Regions from separate parts of the Homo sapiens genome. Here region 2 is linked to region 1. The links are contacts of gene promoters, found by promoter capture Hi-C in blood cells and fetal thymus (Javierre and others, 2016). All regions are on one chromosome and are shown on one strand. The core of a region is centred on a gene start or on the middle of the fragment in contact, and the rest is flanking DNA. Distances in the headings are between cores, read along the strand shown.

Region 1 (3,843 bases), core at 6-2,505:
TCATGGCTGAAAGCAGCTTGGCTTTCCCTGATGCGGTTGGAGACAGCAAAACATCCTTACTACCTGCATCCTTACTACCCCTCTGCTTCTCATCCCCTGGCTCCTGGGCTGCTGTGCAACAACAAAAGGACTGTCACACAGAAAACTGGAATGGAGAAGTTTCTGAAATAGTCATGAGCAATAAGGAAGCAATGAGGACTGATGGTCCCATCCTCCTTCCTGTGGCTCCTCTGAGGCCTCAGCCTGACTCTCCCATTCACCCATTTTTGAAATAAAGAGTTTCTGAAATAGAGACAATTTATCTAATATCCTTGACCTATTGACCAGAAACCAGAAAGGTAAGAAGTGCTATCTAGAGGTGAGAACCAGAGAGTAATCTGGTGAGGCCTTGTTGCGATGCTGACCTCCTGCATCAAAGTACACAGACTGGGAGTCAGAAGCCCTGGCTGTCACCCCAGCTCTGTGACTAAGCCTCTGAGGGACCATCACAAGGGCATCAACAGAGTAGGTACTCATTTGCCAGGTATCAGACCAGGCGATTAAGAAATACTAACTTTAATAATTTGGCAAATCAGCAATTATCTCTGATTTTCCCAGTGGAAAATAATGAAGGGGTTAACGTAGCTCATCTGTGGTCTCCTTGATTTCTGACATTCTGAGATTCTGTGATCTACGAACACAGAAACTAGCCCCAGCAGAACAATCATGCCTTCTCTTGGGCTCCATCAGCACTTGGTACTCAGTGCTAGTGTACATCAGTGACTACTTCCTGATCTGTTACATTTCCTGTGTGGGTTTGTTTCCCTGAGACCATATGCTCTTCAAGGGCAGACACTGTTTTCGTCTCCTGTGGTCCTCCTCCCAGCTCAGTACCTAGGGGAGACAGGCCTTAGAGTGGGTTGTAGATTGTCAGCAGAAACCAGGCAACACTTTGCTTGATGTTGGTGCTAGATGGCTCCTGAAACACTTGCCTTGGGTTTAAGCCCCTCCCTTTTGTTTCTATCTCCAGATGCTGATTTGCTACAACCACTCACAACCAGGCCTTCTGGCCATAAAAGGATAAAAGCCTACTAGTGGTGACCTTGCCCATCACCAAGGACTAAGAGCCAGGTAGGTTCCTCCTCAACTCTTACTCTGTGTTTCCCAACTGTCCCATGGCTCAGAGTACCCACCTCCACCTGTGCAAGCCTCTGTTCTAAGCGCCCGGCTCCTCGCGTCCACACCGACTCCCTCTCTGGCTGCTGCCACTTCGGAGTGAGAAACTGAGCTGCTGCTTCAGTTCCGTATTCAGGTTTTCGTCATTTCCTGCCACCCCATCCTCACAGCTACTTCCTGAAATTTGAGTCAGTTCCTTCTGCTTTAGACACTTAAATTTTAAAAGGATTAAATGTTTCTGTGCCTGGTCTTTTGCAAGGTTTTGACAATGGGGGTCATAGAGCAGTCATAGAAAATGCTGCTTTGACTCTGAGTTTGTAATCCAGTGAGAGAAACAAACATTCAACCAGAAAACACATTAGAGAATGCTGTAGAACAGCATTGTGTCCTAAATAGGGTGGCAGTTACATTTGAGACAGTAAAGGAATTCAGAGCATTTGGTATTGGGTGTATTCATCAAGAAAGGCTTTATGGGAAAAGTGATTTATATGTGGGTTTTGAAGCATAAGACTTAAAAAGAAACTCACCCCTATATTACCCACAGCACTTAAAAGTGGAGTTTTCATATAGATGTTCAAATAAACGTCGACCAATTGAATGCCAGAAGAGAATAACTCATGAGGGAAAAGGCAAGACATGGAAGGAGAGTTTCCTAGCTTGTTTGGGGCACTGTGGAGTCTGAGCTAACAAACTAAAGATTTGGCTCTAGAGCGTAGGAAGAATTCTGAAAGAACCAGGTGCTGGTCAGCTGATGGAAGAAGGTCTTTGTGGTATCCTGTTTTACTGCGTGTCAAGACTTGCTGCCCCTCCCTTCCCTCTTGAAGTCAGACTTACTCAGGTGACTTGTTTTGGCCAGTGACAGATACCACTTTCTGGCGGAGGCCGTAAGACCACTGCAAGCTTTGCCATGCTTTCACCACTGCCCAAGGCAACCTGCAATTCTCCATATTGGCTCCTCCAGCAGACTGGGTCCCTGAGTGAGAAAGAACACAAGTGGAGCCCCATCCACCATGTGGGGGAATTGGAGTCTTTCACTAAAAAATAGTCCTTTGTTTTGGCTACTGAGAATTTGAGGGTGTCTGTTATTGTATCTGACCTAGCCTTTCCTAATCTTGATTGTGGACTTCTTGATTTGTTCACAACGGTGCATCCTCCAAGGAGTTTAAGCAGGACTGGATGAAACTGGCCCATGATACAGGCACTTTTCTGCATTAGGAATATGAAGCCTCTGTCACTTCCAAATCTAAGGATTCTATGCCTGGGGGAGCTTTATTTATTCCTTCTACTTTATTACCTATTTATCATGGTGGTACCAAAGTTATGATAAGGAAGAGTACGTTTGTACAAGAGAAAAATCACTTGGAATCCTCATGTAGTGTCAAAATACGATTTAGACTAGATGATGTGACACACCATCCAGGTACATAGTTCTCTAGAGAAAATATAGAAATTAATCAGAGATGACACCAAGAAGTCCCATCTTTCCTTAGCAAATGTCACAAGTTCATTACTGATGAGGTAGTGAGGTGTATCACACAGAAAAAGAATGGGCCTTGAAGCCAGACAGACTTGGTTCAATTAAACCACTTATTGTACTTTGAGAAAGTGAGCTATCTTCTCTCAAGCAGCAACTTAATATAAAAATCCATAATAGCTGGGCACGGTGGCTCACACCTCTAATCCCAGCACTTTGGGAGGCTGAGGCGGGTGGATCACAAGGTCAGGAGTTTGAGACCAGACTGGCCAACACAGTGAAACTCCATCTCTACTAAAAGTGCAAAGATTAGCCGGGCATGGTGGCAGGTGCCTGTAATCCCAGCTATTTGGGAGACTGAGGCAGGAGAATCGCTTGAAACTGGAAGGCGGAAGGTGCAGTGAGTTGAGATTGTGCCACTGCACTCCAGCCTGAGCGAAAGAGTGAAACTCGGTCTCAAAAAAAACCCAACAAAACAAAACAAAACATAATAATGCCTATCTAACCTGCTACATGCTATTAAGCTTCTCTTCTCCCATTCCCACCCAGAGGGATCCCTAGGGGCCTAATGTTTTCACTATGTGCCAGACAAGAGTTCTCCCAGGACCATGCATGGACCTGCATCAATTTCATGCCCTAAGGCCCAGCTTATTTGGTTCAGTATTAGGATAGAATTTCCTCACTGCATTCATCACCTGGGGTCTAGCAGCTAAGGCTGGAAAAATGCATGCAGCTGTCACTGATATTGGCCAGTGAGAAGAAAGCCTGAATATGTAGAGCTTTCTACCCCTATAACCATTCCTGGCTACCTCCTTTCCCTACTTCCCTTACCCACCTTCCACCCCCCAGCATGCAAACACAGGTACCGAAACACCTGTGCACATATCCATTCACTCACACGTACACACACATACACACAAACTCTTCATTCTGAAAATAATTTTATTATTTTACAGTTGTTCAGGAAACTTCCCAGGATGTTGTAACCAAGATTTAATCACCACAGTAGATTTAGAGCAGATCAGTCAGCCCACTTGTCTTCTCTCTTCTTTAGGGAGAGGCTAGGCAGTGAACACATCACGTATGCAATGAGAAAATAACCAACTGGTAGGATGGGGGAGGGGAGGGGAGGCAGGGAATAGGCACAAATGGAATTCTATCCTGGCTGTCCTTCTCAGGTCTATCTATATTTAATTTTGTCTTCTCTATATTCT
Region 2 (3,651 bases), core at 1,146-3,645, 2.2 Mb before region 1:
ATCAGACCACAAGCACCTACCAAACAGGGACAAATTCTCTCCTCTCCAGCTGACCTATGTCTGTCTTGCAGAATCAAATGTATCATCCAAAAGTATGTAATACTGAAGCAATTATCTATTTCCCTCCAATACTCTATAGACACTCCAGAAGTGAGTTCTCCTCATCTGGACACTCCTTCTTTCTATATATCCTTCCTAAAACTATATTATAAGCTATCCGCTAGTTCTTTCATGTTTTCATACCTCGTCCCCAGGTCTTTTATAACAAATTATTCCAGCTGCTTGCTTCCCACCAAGAAAGAAATATAAAGCTTTCTTTTCCCCAAATAATTTCTCTAGGTAAACATGTCACAAATAATCACTCAATAATAGTCTTGGTGACTTTTCAAACCATAAACAATTATTTCTTTCATTTTAAAATGTTGGAAAATACTTTTTTCTACCCACTCCCTCCCTCCCCCCAGTTAATTGCTAAATAAACATATGTTAAAGGAGGAGAGAAAGGCAGATTAAAGCAACCATGGTTGGAACCTTGAATACCAGGATAGAAGAGCTACAGTGAAGGCAGAGAAAAGAATACCAAACCCAGTCAAGAGCCGAGGTATTTTCCGAACGTTCCTACTTCTTCCCAGTATACCATCTGCAGACTCTAAGTGCAAGCAGAAGCATCTACAAATGACATTTTCATTGGCTTTCAGTTCTTTTTAATAGCAGAACGCTTTATTTTCCTTTCCTCATGATATTTTACATAGTATCTTAATATTTAAAACACATAGGAAAATGAGTCAGTCTAATTAAAAGAAGACGAGGAAAACTCAAGCCTAGACTGTTAGGCTTGCCTGATCCATTTTCCCTTCTAAGCCCTCCTACAGCAACCCCTGAGACACTGAAGAGGGATTTCATGGGACAGTCTAAGAACATTTTTATCTAGAGAACATAATTATCTAGAGGAATCCTCAAAGCCAAAGTCAAAGAGAACGAACAAAGAACTGCTAGAGTTAGGAGGCAAAGTTAGAATTTTTTAGTTGGCTAGAATCCTAGTTAGGGACAGCTAAGATTTTCTATCACAATTTGAAAGTACTGAATCAATAAGTTGATAGCATATATTAATAAAATTAAGGCATGTACCTCAAAGAGCAAACAACTTTTATCTCAATACCTATATTAGATAGTACCTTTCTTCAAAAGCATTTTCGCATATTCTCATTCTTATTTTTAAGTATATAAAATAATACTTATTTGTAGAAATTTTGTAAAATTCAGTAAAGTTTTTTAAAGTTACTGCAATTTACTACTTCATTTATTTCAACATCCTGCTATGATGCAAACAGTACCATCATTTTTAAAATAAGGAAATCCAACGAACGGCAGAGTAAAAAATACTCTAGCATAAACTAGTTACTCTGTATACATACATAAACAAAACTCGGATTAAAAATTAGTATGAGAATCGGAGACTGGAAAAATCCCTTCAAACTGGAATTTCAGGGAGAGCTCCACTGAAATGATGAGATCAGAACTAATTTTAAAGATTGGGTGGAAGAGGGATTGGAAAGTCAGGAAAAAAAAAGGACAAAGGTCAGGCCTAGAAAACAAAAGTGCATAAATACCATTAGACAGGCCTGAAAATACAGTAGTACTGATTGCTAGCTCTGAAAATTAAAATCAAGACAAGAGAAAAACTTTTTTCAGGGAGGAAGGAGAAATTAGCTGGCAGAAAATATCTTGAGCAAATACTTCATTAGGTAAAAGTATCTCTTTGAACTGCTACATTATCAAACCTCCTGATGGCATGGGCTAACCCAGCTAAAAAACAGCTAACATTTATTAAGACCAAACAATTTTTTGACAATTTAAAATCCTTGATGGAATTTGACTTATAATTTGCCCTCTAAAAAAAGAATGCTTATAAGTAGATAAACCATCACACTTACCTTGTATTTTCATTCACTTCTCCCTTCTTCTAATAGATAAAAAGGGGATAACAAGAATTTAGATGATCAGCCAAAATAAAGAATGGGACTGCTTTCACTTTGTGGGCCCCATTTCACATCTTTTTACCTCCAAAGTATTTTGGAATTCTGAATTTTGTCTTGAAGGGCAGGATTTCTACCACAGTGTCAAGAATAAATCTCAATAAGCAAATATCTGAATGACATGATGACTTTTATGTTAGTCTTACTGATCAAAGGACATTAAAATTATATATAGCCTTATTTTTTCTTTACCTGTTTCTCAAGCCTGTTCCATTGCCACAGCCTCCACCAACCAAAGTCTGCAAAGAAGGTAAAGCTGAACGGCTTAGCTGTTGCCGACTAGGGCCCCTCCTTCCACCGGGCATGTCCAGGAACCAGTCTGCTTCCAGTGCCACCTGTAGTTGCAACCCAGGTTAATGGTTGTCAACCAGTTTCAACTCTGAACGACAACAAAAACATTTAAACATCAGTAGACTATTTTTAAAGTAGGCAACAAAACAACGACAAACACTGAGTAAGCAGGCCTTACAAAATAAGATTTTCAAACGAATGTTCCCAGTGTCTACTACTTACGTTATTCGAATTAAAGGACTACTCAGACTCTAATGGGTCAAAAGCCTAAGTTCTGATCTAAGCTCTGTTCAGCTTTAGGCAAGTGATGATTTGTGTCTTTTGTCAACTGATTTGTATCATCTGTAAGATATTATAATCAAATAGAAGTTTACAAGAAACATCACACCTTATACATTTCCAGCTCAATGTTTCACACTTAAACTACTTGAAATATAGAAGAATTGGCACTTTATAAAACATTAGGTTTTGTTATCAAGGGATATGGCTTGTGAGCTCAGATGGTCACATATTATCTGACCTTATCCGGATAAGTTAACTTCTGAGTGTGTTCTTCTGAGTGTGTTTCTTCAAGGGGGGGGGGCGGGGGGGGGGAGTGTCCCCTGTTCTGCAGAGGTTGTCAGGACTGAGGAAGTGGAATGAAAGGGTACCAGTAGTTCTTTTAACAGTTTAAAAGTAAAACTGTTCGAGTGGTATCTCTATATGTTAGGGTTAAAATATTGAAAGAAACTCTTCAAGGGGATGCCCGCTCCAGAAAAGCTGGTGTAAAATCATACAGAAATTACTGAAACTGCAAGATTAAGAAGCAAGTAAAAGATAAAGATCCTCACTGGAAAAAAAAAAAAAAGCTCTTTTCATCATTCTACGGCAAAAATCATGATTCTGTCAACATGGATACCAATGTTTCCTAAACAATACAACTAAAACCCAAGGATGACACTGGAAAAAACCCGTGTTTTCAAATGCTCCCTATTCCTAACAGCCTTCGGCTGTAAACTAACCCCAAGTCAAACAAAGCATTCAAACCGCTGGATGCAGGGGCTGCTGGTCCTTGCTCCATTAACAAGCAAAGGGAAAGAAAAGTGCAGGGAAAAAACTGGGACGGAAGAGGTGAGAGTATGCGGTGTGGTGGACTGCAGGAGACCACAAACTTCAACAGACTGGTCCCTAAGAGAAGTCGGCAGAAAGGTAGACAAAGCAGTCTCCGCCGCACACCCAAGAGGGCCGAGGCAGGTCCAGGACAGCCGGACCTTGGGGCAGCTCAGTAATACTCACGCATGGAAGAGTCCCAGCCGGTGGGGCGGGGTCCCTAGAAAGCGGCGAC

The links. The method cuts DNA at HindIII sites, captures the fragments that hold promoters and counts their contacts. A CHiCAGO score of 5 or more calls a contact.
Region 2: a contact is called between a fragment that was not itself captured here and the fragment with the promoter of HCLS1 in region 1, in 1 of 17 cell types (total CD8 T cells). The highest score is 6.1, in total CD8 T cells.

The regions. Positions count from the first base shown.
Region 1 is chr3:121,659,648-121,663,490 of GRCh38, forward strand. It overlaps HCLS1 (hematopoietic cell-specific Lyn substrate 1), which reads right to left and starts at 1,256. Exons shown (of 14, transcript NM_005335.6): 1 at 1,173-1,256. GOLGB1 (golgin B1) reads right to left here. Exons shown (of 22, transcript NM_001366282.2): 22 at 3,554-3,843. RefSeq lists enhancers at 1,099-1,288, 1,479-1,528. The HindIII fragment of the contact is 5,970 bases long and covers 1-2,053 here.
Region 2 is chr3:119,459,734-119,463,384 of GRCh38, forward strand. TMEM39A (transmembrane protein 39A) reads right to left here. Exons shown (of 9, transcript NM_018266.3): 1 at 3,603-3,651; 2 at 2,229-2,415. The coding sequence starts at 2,341. Among named protein-coding and RNA genes, the nearest start is that of TMEM39A, 2.1 kb to the right of the region's middle. RefSeq lists an enhancer at 3,553-3,651. The HindIII fragment of the contact is 4,172 bases long and covers 310-3,651 here.